Linked DNA regions of Homo sapiens: region 2 is linked to region 1. The links are contacts of gene promoters, found by promoter capture Hi-C in human tissues and cell types (Jung and others, 2019). All regions are on one chromosome and are shown on one strand. Each heading gives the region's core, a stretch centred on a gene start or on the middle of the fragment in contact. The rest is flanking DNA. Distances are from core to core; before and after follow the strand shown. Region 1 holds the start of N4BP3 (NEDD4 binding protein 3). Region 2 overlaps LOC128966623 (a long non-coding RNA gene).

Region 1 (5,604 bases), core at 1,906-4,405:
GTTGGCATTACAGGCGTGAGCCACTGCACCCAACCCAGAATCTGAGTTTTCATCAGAACTTAGCTGTGACCTCTCTCTCTCTTCCTCATGCCATTTCTTGCAAGTGGATTCTTATAAGAACCTTCATTCAAACCCTCTCATAAACATCTCTATCACTGTCTCTCCCACTCAGTTGACAGAATGAACACCTTCTCGGCAGCTTCCAGCTTCCAGGTCCTCCTTGGCCCCATTTCTTTCCCTAGAGACCCAGGGGACCCGACCTCCCTGCCTGCCTGTGCCACCTCACAGGCCCCACGTCCAGCTGCGTGCACAAGCTCCTCTCTCTCAATGCTTCGGAGGCTCCCAGCGCCCACTTCAAGAGGCTTCTCTGGGTCTGCTCTCGGTTGCCACCTTCGTCCCTTCCCACCACTAACCTTTCCCACCCAGGGCTTGGACCTTGCTAGCAAGCTGAACGTGCCCTGCCTTCTCTAGCCCTGCTATCTGCTCTGCTGGGAACACTCCTCAGTGGAAATGCTTCCAGGACCATCTCAAAAACCATTGCTCCAGTGAGGCCTTTCCTTGGGTCCCCCAAACAGCCAAACAGGTTCTTGCTCTGAAACTTTATCTGTCCCAGTGAGTAACCCTACCAGACTGGCTCCTCAAGGGCTGAGACCCACAGCAGCTATTAATGAGTTTTCTTAGACAAGTATTCTGAAGTCTGGCAGTTCTATTAGAAATTCTGGCCGGGCGTGGTGGCTCACGCCTGTAATCCCAGCACTTTGGGAGGCCGAGGCAGGTGGATCACCTGAGGTCGGGAGTTCAAGACCAGCCTGACCAACCCCGTCTCTACTAAAAATACAAAATTAGCCGGGCATGGTGGCACACACCTGTGCCAACCAGCTACTCGGGAGGCTGAGACAGAAGACTCGCTTGAACCTGGGAGGGGGAGGTTGCAGTGAGCTGAGATCACGCCATTGCACTTCAGCCTAGGCAACAAGGGTGAAACTCCATCTCAAAAAAAAAAAAAAGTTGCCGGGCGCAGTGGCTTATGCCTGTAATCCTAGCACTTTGGGAGGCCAAGGGGGGGTGGATCACGAGGTCAGGGGATCGAGATCATCCTGGCTAACATGGTGAAACCCCATCTCCACTAAAAATACAAAAAATTAGCCGAGTGTGGTGGTGGGCACCCGTAGTCCCAGCTATTTGGGATGCTGAGGCAGGAGAATGGCGTGAACCCGGGAAGCGGAGCTTGCAGCGAGCTGAGATCGCACCACTGCACTCCAGCCTGGGCGACAGAGCAAGACTCCATCTCAAAAAAAAAGTTCTTTCAGCCAGGCATGGTGGCTCACGCCTGTACTCCCAGCACACTGAGAGGCTGAGGCAGGCAAATCATTTGCCTTAATTGATTTGCCCACCTCGTCTTCCCAAAGTGCTGGGATTACAGGCGTGAGCCGCCATGCCTGGCCAGAAGTTCTTCCTAGAGGTTCTATGCTGTCCTAGCAAGAATTGGTAAGAACAGCATAGAACACAAGGGGTTGCAAATTTGTGGGCCGTAGACCAAATCTGTTCCACAAGTGACAAGATGTTTTTTAATTGAGGTAAAATGTGCATACCATAAAATTAGCCGTTTTAAAGCAAACAATTCAATGACATTTGTATATTCATAACGTTGTGCAACCACCACCTCTGTCAGGCTCCAAAACATTTTCCTCATCCCAGAAGGAAACCCTATGCTTGTTAGGCAATCACTCTGCCTTTCTCTCTCCCCACAGCCTCTGGCTCTAATCTGCTTTCTGTTTGTCTGGATTTACTTATTATAAATGGCATCATTAACACATGTGGGCTTTGTGTCTGGTTTCTTTCACTTGCCATGTTTTGGAGGTTTATCCATGTTGTAGCAGGTATCATCAGTGTTTCATTCCTCTTTTTCTTTTCTTTTCTTTCTTTTTTTTTTTGAGACAGGCTTACGCCATCATCCAGGCTGGAGTGTAGTGGCACAATCTCCGTTCATTGCAACTCTGCCTCCTGGGTTCAAGCAATTCTCCTACCTTAGCCTCCCGAGTAGCTGGGATTACAGGCTCGCTCCACCATGCCTGGCTAATGTTTGGTGTTTTTGGTAGAGATAGAATTTCGCCATGTTGGCCAGGCTGGTCTCAAACTCCTGACCTCAAGTGAGCCGCCTGCCTCGGCCTCCCAAAATGCTAGGATTACAGGGGTGAGCCACCACATCAGGTCTTTTTTTTTTTAAGATAGAGATGGAGTTTTGTGAGTTGCCCAGGCTGTTCCTGAACTCCTGGCCTCCAAAAGTGCTGGGAGAGTTCAGACATGAGTCATCACATGGCGTTCATTTCTTTTTTATGGCTGAATAATATTCCACTGAATGGATCTACCATTGTTTGCTTACACCCTCATCAATTGTTAGTTTGGGCTGTTTCCACCTTTTGGCTCTTTGACTATTGTGACTAGTACTGCCAAGAACATTACTTGTTTGAGGACTATAATTGCCGGATCATATGGTAACTCTATGCTTAACTTTTGAATTAGAAACGGTGTTTTAATTTTTCGAATATGACTCCTTTACGTGTCTGTGTCTGTTTCCATGTCTTCCTACTGTCTTAGTAGGAAGCTCACGACTCATTTGCGTAATTTTTCTGGCCCCTGAAGGCACCTGATTTTGCTGCCCCTAGAATACTTTGGAGGCAAAAAGAAAATAACTCTGTGCCCAATTCAGCCAGAGTCGTGGGGTAAAATCTTTTCACTTCTCAAAGTACTACTGTGGTTCATCCCCAAAGGGGGGAAATCAGGTTTTCCGGAGAGGAGGCGGCTACAATTAGGGAGGTGAGGGACCTCACGCGCCTCTTCCTTAGAGGAGGCGGGCGAGGCGAACGGCGGAGGAGGAGAAGCGGGGGCGCTGTGCGCTCTCTGGGGCGTGGGCCGCGCTCGGGGCTGCCCACCCCTCGGGAACGAGCCGGGGCGCTCAAGGAGGCAGCGACGCGAGGCGCAGCCGGTCCAGGTTTCGCCCGCCACCGCCGTGCGGCGCCTCTGCGGGTCAGGGCCGGGGGCGCGGTCGGGGCCGGGCGGGGCCCAGGTTGGCTCGCGGGTAGGCGGCCCCGCCCCCCACATCCGGGGGCCGGGGCCGGGCTGTGGGCTTGCCGCGCGCCGGTGAGTCAGGCCGGGTTTTCCCTCCGCCTTTGGGGCAGGCGATCGAGCGCCGCGGAGCGCGTCCCTCCCTCGCCAATCCGGCTCCGGCGCCGGCGCCCGCCCGCGTTTTCCCGGCGCCTGCCGCTCCGCCGCTCCGACCCGGCACGCAGTCCCGGCCCGAGCCGACGCCTTGCAGGAGGGTTCAAATCCGCGCGGGGGAGCTGCGACGCGCAAGGGCTGCGGAGCCGCGGGCCGGCGAGCGCGTCGCCACCATGGTAAGTGGGGCGCGCGAGGGGCTGGGGACCCGGGCTGGACTCGGGGGGTGGGGAGGGGTGGGGCGGGTCGCCAAGGTCTTGTTTTCGGGCGTCCTTGGCAAAGCTGCTGTCCCGCTGGCCGAGGCTCCCGTCTGAGAGATGGGCGGGGGTGGCAAGGTGCGGCGTGCGCCCAGGTGTCCCCTGCTCCCGGTCACCGAGGCACCGGATCGGGGACCGACCCCGATGCTCCGCTGGAGGGGCAGGCGGCAGGCTACCTTGCTCTCCCCAACCCCTGCAAACGCGCTTTCCAGGGAGCAGCGCGCGGGACCCCTGCGCCACGGCTGGGTGGGGCAGGCGTCCTTGGCGCCGGCGTCTGACCTCGGCCTCCGCCCCCCGGCCCAGCCGCTCCCGGCAGGCCTCAGGGAGGGGCCAGGAGGAGACGCGCCTCCCACCCCGCCCCCCAGGTAGCTCCGGGACCTCCCGCAGCTTTGGGGAACCCTCGCCTTCACCCCTGCTTTCCTGACACAAATTCCGTGGGGATGCAACCTCGTTTGCCCCTCTGACTTCCCCATGAGATCTCTCGCTTCCTCCCACACCTCCTTTATCCCCCAACCCCCTGCCGGTCCACCAGGCTGCAGCTGCGGGTCTGCGGGTAGGGGACATTCCTAGGTCTTGACCGCCAGAGCACCCGGTCCAGTCCCGGCCACAGCCTTTGGCCCAAGTGAGGGCTGGCCTGGGGACAAGCCGAAATCAGGGCCCTGGCTGTATCCAGAAAGAGAACTGAGACCCGTTGCCTCCCACTGGGCCACCCCCCGACCCCAACCACATAGGAACAGATTGGGCCTGGCTGTCCTCGGGAGGGAGCGGACGCAGGAGGCCATCCTGGGCGCGGTTATCAGCCTCCTCCCAGGGCCCTCCCAGGCAGGGCTTCTCTACCGGCTGGCAGCGTGTGGTGTGCATGTGCCAGACTGTGAATGAATGCGGCCAGCCTGCCTCTGCCACCGCCTCTAGAGCTAGCATAGCGACTCGGAGTCCCCATGAGGCAGGTTTCCTCTATTTCTTCCTGACCTGGGGGGCAGCAGGAGGGATTCCAGGCCTGGTGGACCGCAGTCTAGGGCAGCCTGGTTGCAAGTGTCCTTGGGAGAAACAGGCATGGAGGGCTGGGCAGACATATATGCAATACATACACAGCAGTGTGTGCCCATGGAGGGGAACCCGTGACCCCTGGCTTAGGACAACCTGCTGAGGTAGAAAGGACCTTGCCCAGGGAGTTGAGATTGCTTCTCACTGTGGGATCTTGGATAACTCACCTCGCCTTCCGAGGCCTCAGTTTCCCGATCTGTAAAATGGCGTGAGGGTAATTACTGTCCTGTTTGCCCCCACGAGGCTATTGTGGAGATGAAATGAGATAATGAAATAGAAGGGCTGAGAAAAAACTGTAGACTGCGGTGCAGCCGTGAAGCACTATATGGTGATACTAAGCACCACTTCCGCAGGCTTTAGCCCCTGTCTCTGCCTCAAGTGTCTGTCACAGAGGGGATGGGGTGGGCCAGCCTCTCCCAGCCCCTCTCTGGGCCCCCCTTGCCTACTACCCCCCCCTTTTGGAGCTGGGACATTCCAGTCCCATTCCTTAGGGGCAGCTGCAGACACGCCCCTTAGCAGAGCTGATCCCCCAGCAGGTGGTGGGACCTTTCCCTGGGGCCAGGGCTCAGGAGGGGCTGACTGTAGCCAGGGCAGGCAGCACTCCTGCCCATGTGGGGACTGGAATGTCCCACCCCAGAGGAGATGCAAGGTGGGATCCGAGAGGACTTCTAATCCTGGAGCCTGTGTGCTTTCTCCCCTGCGGCTGAACGTGACCTTAGGCGTGTTACTTCACTTTCTGAACCTCAGTTTCCTCTTGTGAAGTGGGGGATGACAGAACTCATCTCCTGTGTGTCTTGTGAGGATGTGATAGTGCCCTTTGGCGTGACCCAAAAGGGCACCAACAGGCTCTGGGACGCCCCCCTCAAAGAAAGCGCGTCCTCTCCTTCTTTGCTTCCTGGCCAGGGCAGCTGTGTCTTCCATCTCCACCAAGGATTGGTCCGAAAGCAATTCCTCTCCGTGTTCAGAGATTCCAGTGCTGCCTGCTAATCTTGGGGACTGGAGAGGGGTGAGGGGACTGGTGGCGGGGAGCAGGAGTGAAGAGGCCTTACTGGGGCTAGCCAGGACCTGTGGAGAATGTGGCTTGAAT
Region 2 (6,069 bases), core at 303-2,802, 1.5 Mb after region 1:
ATATTTGGTCAAGATAACTTCCCTACTCAGAAACTGAAATATATTCCAAGCCCTAACTCTGGAATCTCCAGTCCCTGGTCTGCTACCATACCACCTTTACCCAGGCCTGAGAAATGAAAGATAGATATTTTAAGGCAGCACTTCCCAAGTCAACTGAGGTAGGGGTGAGTGGTCAGGATTTTGTTTAAAATGCAGATTCCAACTGACAAGGTCAGGAGGTTAAGTTACTGCAAACAAGCTATGGAGCATAAGATTCCAAAGAACCATAATGCTTCTAGACTTTTTTTTGAGACAGGAATTTCGCTCGTTACCCAGACTAGAGTGCAATGGCACGATCTTGGCTCACTGCAACCTCTGCCTCAGTAACTGGTATTATAAGCGTGCACCACCATGCCCAGCTAATTTTTGTATTTTTTAGCAGAGACAGGGTTTCACCATGTTGGCCAGGCTGGTCTCGAACTCCTGACCTCAGGTGATCCACCCACCTCAGCCTCCCAAAGTGTTGAAATCACAGGCGTTAGCCACCGCCCCTGCCCTAGACTAGCCGTATGGCTCTGGATTTAGTTTAACCTTACTCCAAGTTTCTAGTTCTACTCCCTTCTCTAACAGGGCAAGCTTTATCCTTAAATGTACCACAGTTAACTAAAGAACCCAGAGAAGGGACCTTCAATCTTTCTCAATACTGGGCCTCAGTACCAAACTATTAACGCAAGATCTCAAGGGCAGTAACCAAGCTTAGAACACAGCTCAACAACTCTCAACACTGCCTCCCCCGACAACTGCTGTTCTCTAGACCTGCCAAAGACAAAACCAACAATACACATTCCAGACCCTTCCCTCTGCTAGTGTCCAGTCCTGGTAGGGGCAAGCAAGGTAGATCTGCAAAGCCCTCCCCTCCATGTCTCCTGCATGCACTGCTCCTGTGGGCAGATGGTTAGAAATGACCGATACTAAGCCACTCTGTCCACCCTACCTAGCTCTACCCCAACAACAAACTCAAGAAAAGCTCGTGTAATCGCAGAAAAGAGAAAGCTTATCCACACTTCGCTTTAAAGGGCGGCCGGGCGCGGTGGCTCACGCCTGTAATCCCAGCACTTTGGGAGGCCGAGGCGGGCGGATCACGAGGTCAGGAGATCGAGACCATCCCGGCTAAAACGGTGAAACCCCGTCTCTACTAAAAATACAAAAAAAAATTAGCCGGGCGTAGTGGCGGGCGCCTGTAGTCCCAGCTACTTGGGAGGCTGAGGAAGGAGAATGGCGTGAACCCGGTAGGCGGAGCTTGCAGTGAGCCGAGATCCCGCCACTGCACTCCAGCCTGGGCGATAGAGCGAGACTCCGTCTCAAAAAAAAAAAAAAAAAAAAGGCACAAGCCTATGTGACAGCCTAGTTCAGACACTACATTCTAATTTCATTATCAGGGACTTGAATCTAATGGGATGAAAGTAGTAGCGGCAGTTCCCACACTGCAGCACCCCTGAGCATCTGCTGAAGGAACCCCGGGAGCGTGCTTTTCAGGACTGCTTTTGTGATACCCAACCTTGTATTAACACGAATAGACTCTCCCTTACATGCCTAACCTTGTTTTTAATATGAAGACTCCCTTCGCTGAGAAAACCAGGCCAACTCCATTTGGCTCCTTCATTTACAAGACATCAAGGGCTCCTTACCCACCCCCCTTTCCTCAAGGACTTTAACTTGTGCAAGCTCTCAACGTATCAAAGAGTGCAGTTAACTGATAAGGTGCTGAGGCAAGCGATGTCCAGTTCCCAGCAATTTACTCAGAGATGGTACCATCAAGCCCCCATGTTTGTCCGGTAGATAACACCCAGAGCCCCCTCACCTGTCACTTTGTGATGAATTTGAAGCTCCTGCACCTGGAACTGTTTTCCTGTAACCATTTGTCTTTAACTTTTTTGTCTGTTTTTCTTCCCTAAGATGGCTGCAGCTAGAATCCCCCTCCCCTCTCCAAACCAAAGTATAAAAGAAAATCTAGCTCCTTCTTCGAGGCCGAGATACTTTCATGCGGTAGCCGTCTCTCGGTCGCCGGCTAATAAAGGACTCCTGAACTCGTCTCCAAGTGTGGCGTTTCTAACTCGCTCAGGTACACCACTTGGAAGCAGCTTGAATACTTGCTATCATCATGTTGGAGCTTCGAACTACCAAAACGTGATATATTTAAGAGTTCATTTAAACTTCTCATGTTAGCTCTCAATCTCTACCTATCGTTCTACCTTAGGAGACTTACATGGAATTTTGCTTCCAAGTGGAATTGATTTTTAGGAATGACCCAAAAATACAGAAGTTCAAAACTTCCATTTGAAAACCATCTGTGAAGGCTGGGCAATGGCTCCAGCCTATAATCCCAGCACTTTCAGAGGCCGAGGTGGGCAGATCTCATGAGGTCAGGAGTTGGAGACCAGCCTGGCCAACATCGTGAAACCCCGTGTCTACTAAACATACAAAAAAAATTAGCCTGGAGTGGTGGTGGGCGCCTGTAACCCCAACTACTTGGGAGGCTGAGGCAGAAGCCCACAAGGTGGAGGTTGCAGGTGAGCTGAGATCACGCCACTGCAATCCAGCCTGAGACAACAGAATATAACTCTGCCTCAAAAAAAAAAACAAACCTATGAGCTTATGAGCTAGAAGAAACCCACATATTCATCACACCTCCCTTGCCTCCGGCACCTTCCCAGCCAAGCATGAAGGCCTCAAAGACATGCAGGCATGCAGTGAGGGCACTGGCGCCTCCCCCTTTGTTTTGTGCAAGTGCTTAATGAGTTACAGGCAGTTCAGATCAGGTCCTGTGCAGCCAAATGACATACAGCCCTTCCACCAGGGCCCCAAAGACGAGTTTACCTTCAGTTGCACTGGAGGGAAGACTGAAGACATCTACGCAACAGCCTCAACTGCCAAGCCAGAGATGTGGCCCTAGGCCCCAGGTGGGCACAGAGCACCAAGACTCAGTCCACATGACACTGAAGCACAGACAAGACAGAGTGCAGTTTTTAAAAGGAGGATTTATTTGACAAGTTTCACTTAGCGCAATATACCTAAAAGGAAATCACAATACAATGAAAGATTTAAATCAAGGCCTCAGAATTTCATACAAACACCAAGACCAAAATCCTAAGTATTGGTATTGCGTCTCAAATTTTTCCCATTAACTTAAAAAAAAAAAAAGCTTAAACTTACGTGCCTTACAGGTTATTAAATGAAACTAGAATTAACAAACATGCCAAAATGTTTCACTTTTAATAGTAGACACAGCTCCTATATTGTTTTACAAAAAAATAAAAGCATGTCTTTCAACATGCATCCAAAACAGTGTTCAATTTAACGTGGCAAAGGGCAACATTTAACATAATTCAACTGCTTTTACCTAAATACGCTTACTGCTTAAGTACATCCTATAACTAACTTGAGAAAAGCTGGAACTTAAGTTTAACAGTTATAGTTTACTCAGCTTCACTGTTACATCCTAGATGAGTATTGTATTCAAAAATACTGGGCCTTAAGTCTTCATAACAATCCTGATTTCCACTTAGAGTAAGCATAAATCACAAGCTTGTATTGCAGAAACTGTTAAACTGAAGTTTTCTTAAAGAAAAAAAAAAAAAAAAAAAAAAGGTTGACCAAGAGTCAGTGATCAGGATCGATCAATTACATTCCCCATCCACCACTCATACTGGACATGCTAGACAACCCTCCCATTCCGTTCACGCCCATAGATGCACGGCTTCCACTACTGTAGTAGCTGCTGTTCACTGCTCCTTGGTTACCTGCAAAGAGATCAATTTGACAAGTTAGGAGTAATATCAGACTACCAGTCAAATAAAATATAGTATTCCAAGAAAAAGTTTAAAAAGTATACGAGTACAAATGGCTGCTGTCCAAGTGGCGAGACGCATGTTTGGGAAAGGGGAATCCCGACTCCAAACAAGCCTCAATTAACCCCTTTTCTCTGCAGTACCAACTTGCCAGACTCTTGTGCTACCATTTTAACGGATTCTTCAGGATCAACATGAAAAATTAAGTTTAAAGGAAAACTAGTGTTTTTCAAAAATTGCAAAATTACTTCGTATTTTTAAAGCTAAACAAGGCATTTTTAAAAAAAATTTAACATAAACATTCACAATGTGTCCCTCGAATGGCATTTGAGAAAAGGGAGCACAGGGGAAGTCTCTTGCTTTTCCTATTCATGGTGGGCAGGAAGTGAGACAACCAAGCTGGACTAAAGGCAACTCACTGTGCCCAAATGGCAGCCTCCATGGAGTTAAGTCAGAGCCATTGACTGCTATAGAAAGCATTATTACAACATATCAGTATTTGCTATTGGGAATTTATATTTTTTGAGAAAATATTTACCTATGCAATGTTTGATTGAAAATCACTGGAGTTTTCCTGTAAAACTTGGTCTGCAAAAGGATTTTGTAGGGTAAGACTATAATACCAAAATCACCATTCTTTAGACCAATTGAAAAAAAATAAATAAAACCAATCCTAGGTTAACTGACTAATAAATACGATCCTGAACCCAACCACCATTCTACTATTTCAAATTCTCCCTCTGTCTAAAACTGACTTAATGCTAACCAAAAGACAAAAAAGTGAACAACTTTATTTAATGTTTTAATACATGGAGGCAGATATTTTCTGGCTCGACAGTATTCCAAAGCTGCAATGACTAGTTCTTAATTCAAAGAACACTTCCCCCTCCCAATGATTGTTTCTGAAAATTAGCTAGTAAAAACAGTTACATTTGGATTGAAAGCATACATTTCATAACCCAATTTCACCGAAAGGAGCCTGCATCTTCCCAACTAAAGGCACCTGCCTGCGACTTACTCTAAGTACAGTAACAGGCTTTACCATAACTTACTCTAAGTACAGTAATGAACAGGCTTTACCATAACTTACTCTAAGTACAGTAACAAACAGGCTTTACCGTATCCACTCATGCTGCTCTGGCCACCGTAGCCGCCTCCGTAACCCCCACTCAGCTGCTGGCTGGCTGGGCCCCCGTAGCTGGACTGGTTTGCTGTTAAGTTAAGAAAACATTAGAACCTTTTTTCTTATGTGATGTGGTACCTGGTGGTACCGGGCTTGTAATTCTATAGCTATCATTTTCCAGTCTTGATCTTACATTACTGTAACCCTCTGCCTCCTTCTGCCTACTGTCTATAACCAGGCCACCCTTCTATCCATCATTTGAGCCAGTCAAATATTGATAAACCAAAGTGCTAACGGTACACACATCAGCAGGACTAAAATCAACATGATTCCGTAAGTAGAGGCATTTTGTGAAGATCTTATGAAACTGCTTGACTGGATTTAGTGGGTTCCCCCTCAGTTTGATACATCAAAGGCATGTCAATACACCTAATTATGCCCACATTTATCTTAATCCTGTTTTGCTATTGATTTAAACTTTATACTTAGAAAATTTAAGTAGTTTCACTCCGTAGTCCCCTCCCCCAAGACTACTTAAACCTAATTTGAATTATCTATCCTAAGGAACTTCATAACTCACAAGGATTTAAGTAAGCCAGATACAAAACTCAAATATCAAGAAACTGCTTTGCCTAAGTTTCTTATGCTAAACTTATTAAATAAATAGATTAACTTAACTTATAATTGACTTATACAGATATAAACGTTTTGGTTTTTAAAAAAACTAACGATATTTACACAAGCCCATGCCTCCCATCATTTGGCTACCATAAGCACCACCGCTTGCTCCTGCTGTAGAATTCAAGAAGAGTTCTACATATCTGTGTTCTGAAATGAGAGAAAAGGCATACAAGGTTAGCTTAAAAAAAAGACACTAAAGTGATATTTACACAAACCCATGCCTCCTAGCATTTGGCTACCGTAAGCACCACCGCTTGCTCCTGCTGTAGAATTCAAGAAGAGTTCTACATATCTGTGTTCTGAAATGAGAAAAAAAAAGTTTGAAAATGTTTGTTGGTGAAACAAAACAGAATAAGCACTTTTATAAAGTTTTTAAACAAGCAGATCTGTGAACTTCAAATACTTTGGCAAAGAAATTCTAGCTACTTCTCTTAGGTG

The links. Contacts are between HindIII fragments. The study calls those that stand out against the background at their distance.
Region 2: a fragment that was not itself captured here is called in contact with the fragment with the promoter of N4BP3 in region 1 in 1 of the 25 tissues and cell types used here (aorta).

What each region holds. Positions count from the first base shown.
Region 1 is chr5:178,110,377-178,115,980 of GRCh38, forward strand. N4BP3 (NEDD4 binding protein 3) reads left to right here and starts at 3,156. Exons shown (of 5, transcript NM_015111.2): 1 at 3,156-3,395. RefSeq lists silencers at 2,896-3,445, 3,526-3,845, 4,196-4,245, 4,856-4,965 and enhancers at 4,284-4,797, 4,326-4,385. The HindIII fragment of the contact is 21,734 bases long and covers 1-5,604 here.
Region 2 is chr5:179,611,181-179,617,249 of GRCh38, forward strand. All of the region lies in intron 4 of LOC128966623 (a long non-coding RNA gene), which reads left to right. It overlaps HNRNPH1 (heterogeneous nuclear ribonucleoprotein H1), which reads right to left. Exons shown (of 14, transcript NM_001257293.2): 10 at 5,871-5,930; 11 at 5,689-5,778; 12 at 4,946-5,038; 13 at 4,366-4,415; 14 at 2,998-3,779. The coding sequence ends at 4,366. Among named protein-coding and RNA genes, the nearest start is that of HNRNPH1, 9.5 kb to the right of the region's middle. RefSeq lists an enhancer at 2,648-2,707. The HindIII fragment of the contact is 3,640 bases long and covers 1-3,372 here.